Regions from separate parts of the Homo sapiens genome. Here region 1 is linked to region 2. Evidence: promoter capture Hi-C in human tissues and cell types (Jung and others, 2019). All regions are on one chromosome and are shown on one strand. The core of a region is centred on a gene start or on the middle of the fragment in contact, and the rest is flanking DNA. Distances in the headings are between cores, read along the strand shown.

What was found. Contacts are between HindIII fragments. The study calls those that stand out against the background at their distance.
Region 1: a fragment that was not itself captured here is called in contact with the fragment with the promoter of GRP in region 2 in 2 of the 25 tissues and cell types used here (IMR-90 fibroblasts and pancreas).

What each region holds. Positions count from the first base shown.
Region 1 is chr18:59,290,001-59,295,010 of GRCh38, forward strand. No RefSeq gene overlaps it. Among named protein-coding and RNA genes, the nearest start is that of RAX, 19 kb to the left of the region's middle. The HindIII fragment of the contact is 3,777 bases long and covers 1,316-5,010 here.
Region 2 is chr18:59,218,387-59,223,282 of GRCh38, forward strand. GRP (gastrin releasing peptide) reads left to right here and starts at 1,772. Exons shown (of 3, transcript NM_002091.5): 1 at 1,772-2,018. The coding sequence starts at 1,880. RefSeq lists an enhancer at 992-1,606. The HindIII fragment of the contact is 15,677 bases long and covers 1-4,896 here.

The DNA.
Region 1 (5,010 bases), core at 1,954-4,453, 73 kb after region 2:
ATATATATATATATATATATATCAATCAAAGGTCTGGGTCCTTTGTCAGATATAAATTTTGCAAATATTTTCTCCCAGTCTGTAACTTGTATGTGGCTTGGCTATTTATTTTCTTAATGATATCCTCTGATGAGCAGGAGTTTTAAATTTTGATAAGGCCTAATTTATCAATTTTAAAATTTTTCTATTCTCTAGAAAAGCTCTCCTTATTCCAAGATCACAAAAATTTTCTTCTGTGTTTTGTTCTAGAAGCTTCACAGTTTTAGTTTTATGCTTAGGTCTGTGATCCACAGTGAATTAAGTTTCTAGATATGGTATGAGATAAGGGTGTAGGTTTGACATGTTTCAGCACATTAAAAAAAAAGACTTTCCGTTCCTTCATAGGATTGCATCGGTATCTTTGTCAAAAATCAATTGGCCAAGAGATGGAGGTTAGTGGTTTCTAGGGCTTGGGAGTGGGAAGAGGGAGGATAGATGTGATTATAAAGGAGTTGAATCAGAGAGATCTTTGTGATGATGAAACAGATCTGTATCTTGATTGCAGTGGATGTATGAATCTACACGTGTGATAAAATGGCACAGAACTATACACACCCATTATGCCACTGTCAATTTTCTGGTTTTGATATTGCACTGTAATTATATAAGATGGAACCATTGGGAGAAGCTGGGAGAAGGGTACATGGGACCCTTTCTGTACTATCTTTGCAATTACCTGTGAATCTATCATTATTTCCAAATAAAAATTTAGAAAAATCAGTTGACATATAATTGTGGATCTATTTCAGGTACCAGTATCGATCAGTACCAGTATCAATTGGTACCAATATCACCCTGTCATGGTTACTGTAGCTTCATAGTACAGCCTTAAGCAAGTGGAGTAAACCCTCCAAACTTGTTTTTCTTTTTCAAGATGGCTCTGTATATCCTACTACACTTGCCTTTCCAGTTATATTTTTGAAACAGCTCATCTTTTCCTACATGATAGGATTATGATTGAGACTGCACTGACTCTATAGATCAATTTGCTGTTTATTGATAGCATGACAATATTGAATCTTCTGATCCATAAACATTTATTTAAGTATTCTTGAATTCTCTCAGGAATGTGTTGCAATTTTCAGTGTACAGGCCTTCTACATCTTTTGCTACATTTATTACTAACAATTTTAAGTTTCCTAATGCTATTGGAAATAAAATTGTTGTAATTCCATTTTTGAATTGTTTGCAGCTAGTATATAAAAATGCAATTGATCATTATATACTGACATTGTTTCCTGCAACCTTACTAAGTTAACTTATTAGTTCTGGTGGTTGTTTTATAAATTCCTTATAATTTTCTGTGTTAGTAATCATGTCATCTGTGAATAGAGACAGTTTCACATCTTCCTTTCCCATCTTTTCTTTTCTTCCTTTTCTTCTCCTTTATTGCACTGGCCAGGGCCTTGGTACAACGTTGAAAAGAAATAACGAGAGTAAATTTCTTTGTCTTGTTCCCATTTCTAGAGGAAAGTATTTAATGTTTTACCATCAAGGATGTTAGCTGTTGGTTTTTCAAAGATGCTCTTTATTGAGTTGATAAAGTTTTATTCTAATCTTAGTTTGCTGAGAGTTTTAAATCAACAATGGGTATTGGATTTTGATAAATGCCTTCTCTGTTGACATAAATGATTATATGGGGTTTCTCTTTATTGTGTTAATATGGTGAATTATATTTATTGAGTTTTGAATGTTAAATTAAATCAACCTTGAATTTGTAAGATAAACCTCATTTGTTCATGATATATTGTCCTTTTTGTGTATTGCTTTGTCCTTTTTGTGTATTGCTGGATTTTCTTTTCTTTTTTTTTTTTTTTGAGACAGATTCTCCCTCTGTCACCCAGGCCGGAGTGCAGTGGTGCGATCTCAGCTCACTGCAACCTCCTCCTCCAGGGTTCAAGTGATTCTTATGCCTCAGCCTCCCAAGTAGCTGGGACCACAGGTGTATGCCACCACACCCAGGTAAATTTTTTGTATTTTTAATAGACATGGAGTTTCACCATGTTGTCCAGGCTGGTCTCGAACTCCTGATCTCAAATGATTTGCCCACCTCGGCCTCCCAAAGTGCTGGGATTACAGTGGTAAGCCACCACATCCAGCCTGGATTTTATTTTCTATTAGTTGTTGAGAATTTTAAAAATTTAAATTCAACAGAGATATTGGCCTGCAATTTTCTTTTTTTTAAATAATGTTTTTGTCAGGTTTTGGCATCAGGATTATATTTGCCTTATAAAATGACTTGAGAAGAATTTCTTCTTCCTCTTTCTGAAAGAGTTTGGGTAAGATTGTGCTATTTTCCCTTAAATATTTGATAAAAGACACCAGTGAGGCCATCTAAGCTTGGTGTATTCTTTGTGGGAAGGGTTTTAATAATTATTTCTATTTTTTTAAGACATAGGGTTATTCTATATATCTTGCATCAGTATTTGTGAGGTGCATTTTTTTCAAGGAATTTGTTAAGTTCACCTAAATACTTGTCAAGTTTATTAGCATAAAGTTCTCCATAATATTCCCTTATCCTTGAATGACTGTAGGATTTGTAGTGTATCCCCTCTTTCAATGTTGATATTGGTCATTTGTGTACTCTTACTTGTTTCTTAAGCAATTCAGCTAGGTGTCTGTCAAGTTTGTTGATCTTTTAAACGACCAACTTTTGGACTTCTTAATTTTTTCTATTGTTTGTCTGTTTTCTATTTCATTGGTTTGTGCTCTCTAGTGTTTCCATCCTTCTACTTACTTTGCTGAGTTCTGTTATGTTTTTCTGAAGATTATTTTCATTTGTTTGTCTGTTTGTTTCATAGTCAGCAAACATGGCTGGATTCAAACTCAAAACCCTGTTTCTCTTAAGTGGGCAGTAACAGAATTCTTAGTTCAGTTTGTTTAGCCTTCACTGGGCTGCTCAGAGTATGCCTAATCTATGCATAGTTCAGGGATTAGCCAGGATCTTGAAGAGACTTTATACACGAATTTAAAATCCCCCTCCTATAGCTCTCTCCTTTCTAGGATTCGCTCTTTCATTTTGCAGCTGCTGTGGGTACCCCAAACTCTGCTGGTTCTTCAATACATTAAGGCTGCAGGTTTTCTATCTGAGTTTTAGTTGTCTTACTTGGCTTCAAGTGGGGTCTGCCTTCAGATGAAACCTGTAAGCAAAGGAAAACTCACCAGTGCTTTTTCCTTCTTCTCAGTTCAGGTTTCATTTCTCTCCAGTGTGGACCTGCTTTTGGCTGCTTCCAGTGCTTTCAGGCAATTGTTTCTTTATATTTTGTTCATAGTTTATGGTTGTTATTTGCAGGAGGGTTGATCCAGTAGGAGCTTATTCTCCACTATCAGAAGCTGTAAGCTCTAGTTTTTTCACTTTTAATTTCACTCCTCTCCCTGTGTCTGATGGTTCTGTTTGTAAGCAGGAATTTGGCTAAATTTCTAGTGCCAGGAGCAAAACCAAGGTACTTACATAACTCACAAACTAGATCAGTTGGTTTCTGGGTAACTGAGCTCACTATATCAATAGTCCTTCAAAAGCAGAACTCCTGCTTCATTGTACTGTAGGAGTCCATATCTAATTGGGACTAGACTAAGCAAAATTGGGAAGTCCATTTAATTTGTCTTCTTGGAATTTATTCTTCAGCACCTGTCCCCAGAGTCATTATGGTTCCTTCTGCCTGAATAGAAATGCCCCCCTGGATCTCTAGATTTTTCTCTCCTCTCTTTTAGCATCTATCAAAACTCTCTCTTCCTCCCCGCCACTCCTGGAGCCTGGTGTCCCTTTCCTCAGTTGAAGCTAGTAAAGGACTGAAACCTAGTTCTGTGGCAGTGACAATGGGCTAATGTACTCTCTTTCACAAGATAAATCTCCACAGTGACCACCCTGAAACCATAGAATGAATTACAGAAGGTAGAGTAATCCAGCCCCCTCATTTTCACTGTTGAGAAAATGGATTTCCAGATAGTATAAATAACTGGTCCGAGGTCATGTGCTAGTGGGGTTGGGACTAAAATCCTCATTCCTGACTATGAGTTGGCTCAGGAATGGCTTCAAACATCAAGTCCAGTGGCAGGGTGTGGAAGGGGACAGCATTGCTGCCTTCTGCATGGTTGGCTTCACTCCTAGACATGGGCAGTCAGCATTCAATTACCCAGTGGGTTCACAGTGTTCCTACTGTATGATAAGAATTGACAAAAAGAAGTAAGGATGTCTTCCTGAAAAAGAGAAAACTGAGAGGGGATATATCAAAGCCTGAGTGGGAATGTAGGCACAATCTGTGCAGTTTAATTCAACAGAACCATGACCAATGGATTAAAGATGCAACCATTTTCAGCTTAAGACAAAGAAGGATTTTCTAACAACTAGAGCTGTCTACAAATGGAAGAGCTGGTGGTTAAATTTCCTTGGAGCAGCAGATAGTGACTTCTGTACCACTGGAAGCTTTCAAATAAGGCTCAACTGGGACAGTTTGGGAAGGGTCCCTTTATTGTATGGGAGATTGGAATAGATTCCCTCGTAGTCCTTAATAATTGTTGGATTCTAGGTTTTGATGATGGGAGACCTTTTTGTGCTCCTCAACATCATACAGCACAGACACCTATCTACCCTCTAGAGAGAAAGGGGCCTTCTGGATGCCCTAATACATGTCCTCCCTCTCCCAACCCATACACATGTGATTTGGTGTTGATTGGGGTGGTGTGGTTTGGCATGGTGAGGGGTGGTTTAGTGTGGGGTGGTGCGTTGTAGTGTAATGTGGTGTGATAGGTTGTGGTCTGGTGTAATGTGATGTGGGGTGATGTGATATACTGGGCTGTGTTGTGGGGTTGTATGGTGTGATATGAGAGGAATCATGGTCAGAGTCTTCTAGCAGCTGTGCAGCTTCATTGAGACAACGACCAAATTGCATTGGAGTAATGTTGGCAGTCAAGAGGAAGTGCCAATTTAGTGATTTCCTTAGCAGAACTGGCTGCATCTTTTACAAGAAAGCA
Region 2 (4,896 bases), core at 522-3,021:
CAAACTATTAATGATCTTAAAATTGACTTTTTTTCTCTTAGACCCAGACACATGCATGAAAATACTCTTCAGATCCAAGAGTACTCAGTCATGCAATGTGAGTGTGTAATCACTTAAGAATATATTGAACACCAAGCACAGTGGCTCATGCCTGTAATCCCAGCACTTTGGGAGGCCACGGCTCACTTGAGGTCAGAAGTTCAAGACCAGCCTGGCCAACATGGTGAAAACTCATCTCTACTAAAAATACAAAATTAGCCAGACGTGGTGGTGCATGCCTGTGATGTCAGCTACTCCACAGGCGGAGACAGGAGAATCACTTGAGCCGGGAAGGCAGAGGTTGCAGTGAGCCCAGATTACGCCATTGCACTCCAGTCTGGGTGACAGAGCAAGACTCTGTCTCAAAAAAAAAAAAAAAAAAAAAAGAAGAAGAAGAATGTATTGAATCAGCAGATACTCAGACACAAGTGTATGTTTTCAACTTTATCAATATCAATATATCAATATCAACACCATGTTGACATGGAACACTAAAGACCCAACAGGGAGGCAATTAACAAGCATTTGAGGAGGAATAGACCTCACCTATTCCAACCACACGGCCAACTCTGGCAGCCAAAACGTGGGCAACAGCATCCTACCAGCTTCTATTTATTGTTGCATTGCTATGGTGCTGATCCCCTTTGTATCCATGGTATTTAGAACCTCGGGGATTGGGCTGGTGACCATTCTTTAGATCTGAGAACAGAAGGAGCAGAGGAACGTTGAGCAACTCTAGAGGGGTGTGTATGTGGCAGTTTAGGGACAGTTTGAGCTTTCAGGTAGAGGCAGCCTAGGGAAACTGGCATAAAGCAGTTTCTTTCTCTATTCCATGGAAGTTGCATGCTTGTGAAAAGGGCCAGCTATCTTCTGTCTTGCCATACAAGTGGGCAGAGCTGCCTGGGAATACCAGGTGGGTTAAGGATACTGCCCTTAACCTTAAGGTGGAGGGCAGCAGAGGGGGAGAGAGAGACAGAGAGAGAGAGAGATTGGGGAGGAGGGGAGAGAGAGAGGGATGGGAAGGGGAGGAGAAGAGAGAAGGGGAGTGGAGGGGAGGGGAGGGTATGGGAGTGGAGAGGAGGGGAAGGGAGGGGAGAGGAGGGGAGAGGAGGGGAAGGGAGGGGAGAGGAGGGGAGAGGAGGGGAGAGGAGGGGAGGAGATCTGCAAGAAAGAGGCAAGGTCCAGAAAAAGAGAGAGAGATCTGCAAGGAGGCAAGGTTCCAAAATCTATGGGCTGGGACAGCAAAGATGTGGCCTACGAAGAGAAAGGTCTGGAGAATCAGAAGGCCTTCAAATGGTGGTTCCAAATCCCTCCAGCAAAGCCCATCCATCTTTAGAGCTCACCCGTCTCCAGCTACACCCCCCACCCCTCCCGGCCCAGATCAGGCAGCGGGGTCGCCCTCTCCAGGACTCTCAAGGCAGCTAAGGCTGGAGGCGCCGGCGAGCCTGGAGAGGGAGGAGTTCACTAAATTGTGTTGGATGGAAGGCGTCGAGGACCGGAGGAATTAATCCGATGTGGGGAAGGCGGACGGGGCTACGAGGAAAAAAGAGGGGGCAATGTACACTCAGCCTTTTCATCACTCGGCGGGGAGATGGATGGTTTTCCGGACCGGGCGTCCCAGCGCCCCGGTTAGCTATAGGGAGACGTCAGAGCGCTCTGGTCCGCGATAGAAGAGCCCCCCAGCCCCCCCGCCCGGGCTTCCATATAAAGTAGGGGCCCTAGTGGAGGCCGCAGCAGTAGCACCAGCGGCTGCGGCGGCGGAGCTCCTCCGAGGTCCGGGTCACCAGTCTCTGCTCTTCCCAGCCTCTCCGGCGCGCTCCAAGGGCTTCCCGTCGGGACCATGCGCGGCCGTGAGCTCCCGCTGGTCCTGCTGGCGCTGGTCCTCTGCCTGGCGCCCCGGGGGCGAGCGGTCCCGCTGCCTGCGGGCGGAGGGACCGTGCTGACCAAGATGTACCCGCGCGGCAACCACTGGGCGGTGGGTGAGTGTCCTGGCCGCGGGAGCCGCGCGCTTGTCCTCCTCTGGATCAGCCAGCCGGAGGGGACCTGTCTCCCCATTTCTTTGCGTTTCCCTGGCCCAGCTTTGGGAGCTGGGTTTGTTGTGACCTTTCTATCGGCAAACACCTTCCCCGTTCTCCTAAAACTCCACCCCACCTTTCCCCATTCTAGGGAGCCCATGAGTCCCTAGTCAGCCGCAGGCTGGTCCGCTGATCCTTTCCCGCTCGCTTCCAGCCTGTCTTCCCCAGGGCACCCGAGCTCCCAACAGCCAACCCCGGTGCAGATCACCTTCCCTCTGCGCCCATCCTACATCTCCTTTTGTCCGCCTAGTCTCAACCTGTCTGGCACGGTACTCTCCTAGAATAATCTTGGGGAGCGTTGTCCCTTGAAAGCATCTCAGAACCCTGGTCCAGCTCGGTGGCCTCAACAGCGACTGGCATGGGCTGAAATCTAAGCTGCGCCTATGCTCCCCGCAAAGCCACAGGTGTGGGGACCTAGGGTGCAGCGCTCCCGCCCCGGGTTTCACATCTGTTCAGTGCGCAGTGCCCTGAATCCCGCCTGTCTGTGACTCTCTGGAGTTTCCTCAGTCCTTCTCTTCGCTTTGCAGCGATATTCTTTTCCCTGCCCTTTTGCCCTCCCTCTTTCCAGCCAGCAGGCTCTGAGCTTGGGGAATCTCGCCTGCTCTCCAAGCTCATCCCGATCTCTCTGCCCCTCTGAGCTCCGCTCTTTCTCCGCCCTTCTTGACCCACGACTTCGCCCTTTCCCCTCGCTCCTTTCCCATTCCCTCTGCAACAGGTCCTGCTCTCTAGGCACCGGCTTGGAGGCTCCCTCGCCATGGCCCCTAGAACCCAGGCGGAGAGGACGGCCGCGCTGCGGGTGCGGAGGGCGCCTGCGGGTGGGGTCAGGATTCCGCCCTGCGCGCACTCGCTGCTTTCGCTCAGCTGGGAGGCAGGAAGCGCCTGGCAGCCTCGGCTCACCCAGCATCACCCCAGGGCTCTCGGCGTCGCCGAGCATAGCTTCCAGCAAACGCAGAGCGTCCAACTTCCTCACTCCCCCACCTACCCGCCCCACAAAAGCCAACTACAACAACCCCAACCAGCTTCTTGGGAAGCTGGTTAATCCCTGAAGAGATTTAAGAGTGTGTATGTGTGTGTGTCTCTGTGTGTGTGTGTCTCTGTGTGTGTGTGTGTGTGTGTATTTCCTTAGCCATCTACTTAGAACGGGCGCTGGGGAACGGTGTGTTGAACAAGTACTTGCTAATTCATATATCGGCTGATTCACAAATCTTGATAGAAGATAAATAATTTGGGGGAAGGAGTGGGACTGGAACTGTTGCTTCCTCAGCTCGTCTGTGTCGTGTGTGCTTTTGTGAGGGAAGTCGAGATCTTTGGGCTGCAATAGAGTGGTTTCCACTGTTGCTAAAATAATCATTTGCCAAGTCTTGACAGTTCCAGAGATGAGAGGATGTGTGATCGCTGAGGGACAGGAGGAACCCAGCAGTCTGGTGTGGAGAGGAGAGGTTGGAATGGGTGAAGCTGAAAAACCCTCCATTTCAAGAATGAAGGATGCTTAGCAGGTGTTGAAGAATCCAAACTTAGAATTGATGCTTCTTAAAGAGGGCTTCTGGGAGCTTAGATCAAGTGGCCATTATCTGGCCCAGCCACCAGCCAATGGGGCTGGAAAGATGGAATGAAAGTTCTGGATTCCCAATCTCTTTGTACTCATCTATATTATTGCACTAATAAAGCTTATTATTAGGTAACGCTTGCAGGCCCAAAGGAGGACAATAGAGTTAACTGGGGAGTGGCATCGTGTTATTTCTGGTGCAAGTCAAGCCAATCTTGATTTGCTGTAGTTCCGCAGAACATCTGTCTCCAGGTATTTAGGGTGTCTGCCGTTTAATTGCCCTTCATAGTGGTACTTGAGCATTCCTAACCCAAAAGAATACCAACCAGTGGTGACCCCAAATACCATTTTCATATTTATTCTCAAATGCACTTTTTTCTCTCCCTTTGATAACTGTGCAGAGTTGAGGAGGAGCAAGGGAAAGAGGGAGGTGAAGTAGAAACTCACATTTTAGCCTAAAATTACCTTGCGGTTGAGAAAACGTTTGCTTTGAGTAACATGCCCTCTGTTGGAATATGAGCATTGACAAGGATGAATGATGTTACACTTCAAATTTAGCTTTCAGTTATCTCAAGAAAATGCTTATCCTCTTCAATCACCAAAGACATGTAGTTTAGTTTTAATTATATAAAACCAAAGCTACATGCTGCTGTCCATGAGGATGCTGTCAGCACACATTTACAGGCTTGGTAAGTAAATTGCTTCTTCTAGCTGAGAGAAGCATGGTGCAGCAATGGAAAAAAGGTTAACAGCTTGAAAACTTAACAAATTTTTATCTGGCTTGATGTTCGTGGAAATGTTTTGTTTGTGTGATGAAAATATATGACAACACTTATACTGGCTACTATTCCCTGTGCACCCATGAAATGCTCCTAACTGTGGTTCTAACTTGGACGTGAGACATATCCCAGAAGGTTGAATTTGGAAATACCAGTATTCCACTGCAGAATGGCTTGTTATGGCCCCAGAAACTGTGGAATAGAATTTAAGTGTGGGTCCAAAAATACTACTTCTTAGTAGTACTCAACACTTTCATCTATGTCTTATTCATTTCTGTTTCAAACCTTCCCTTTAGTAGTATCTTTAAATGATTAATAAAAAGAACAAAAGCTCTTTTTTTCTCTGATCAAGGTTTTATTTTTTCAAGTGCCTGTCTTTTGTCTATGGTGAGGTTTCCATTATTATGATATGGGCACTTGACAGATGATGTTGGGAGAAGAGGTGGAAGTGGGCGTA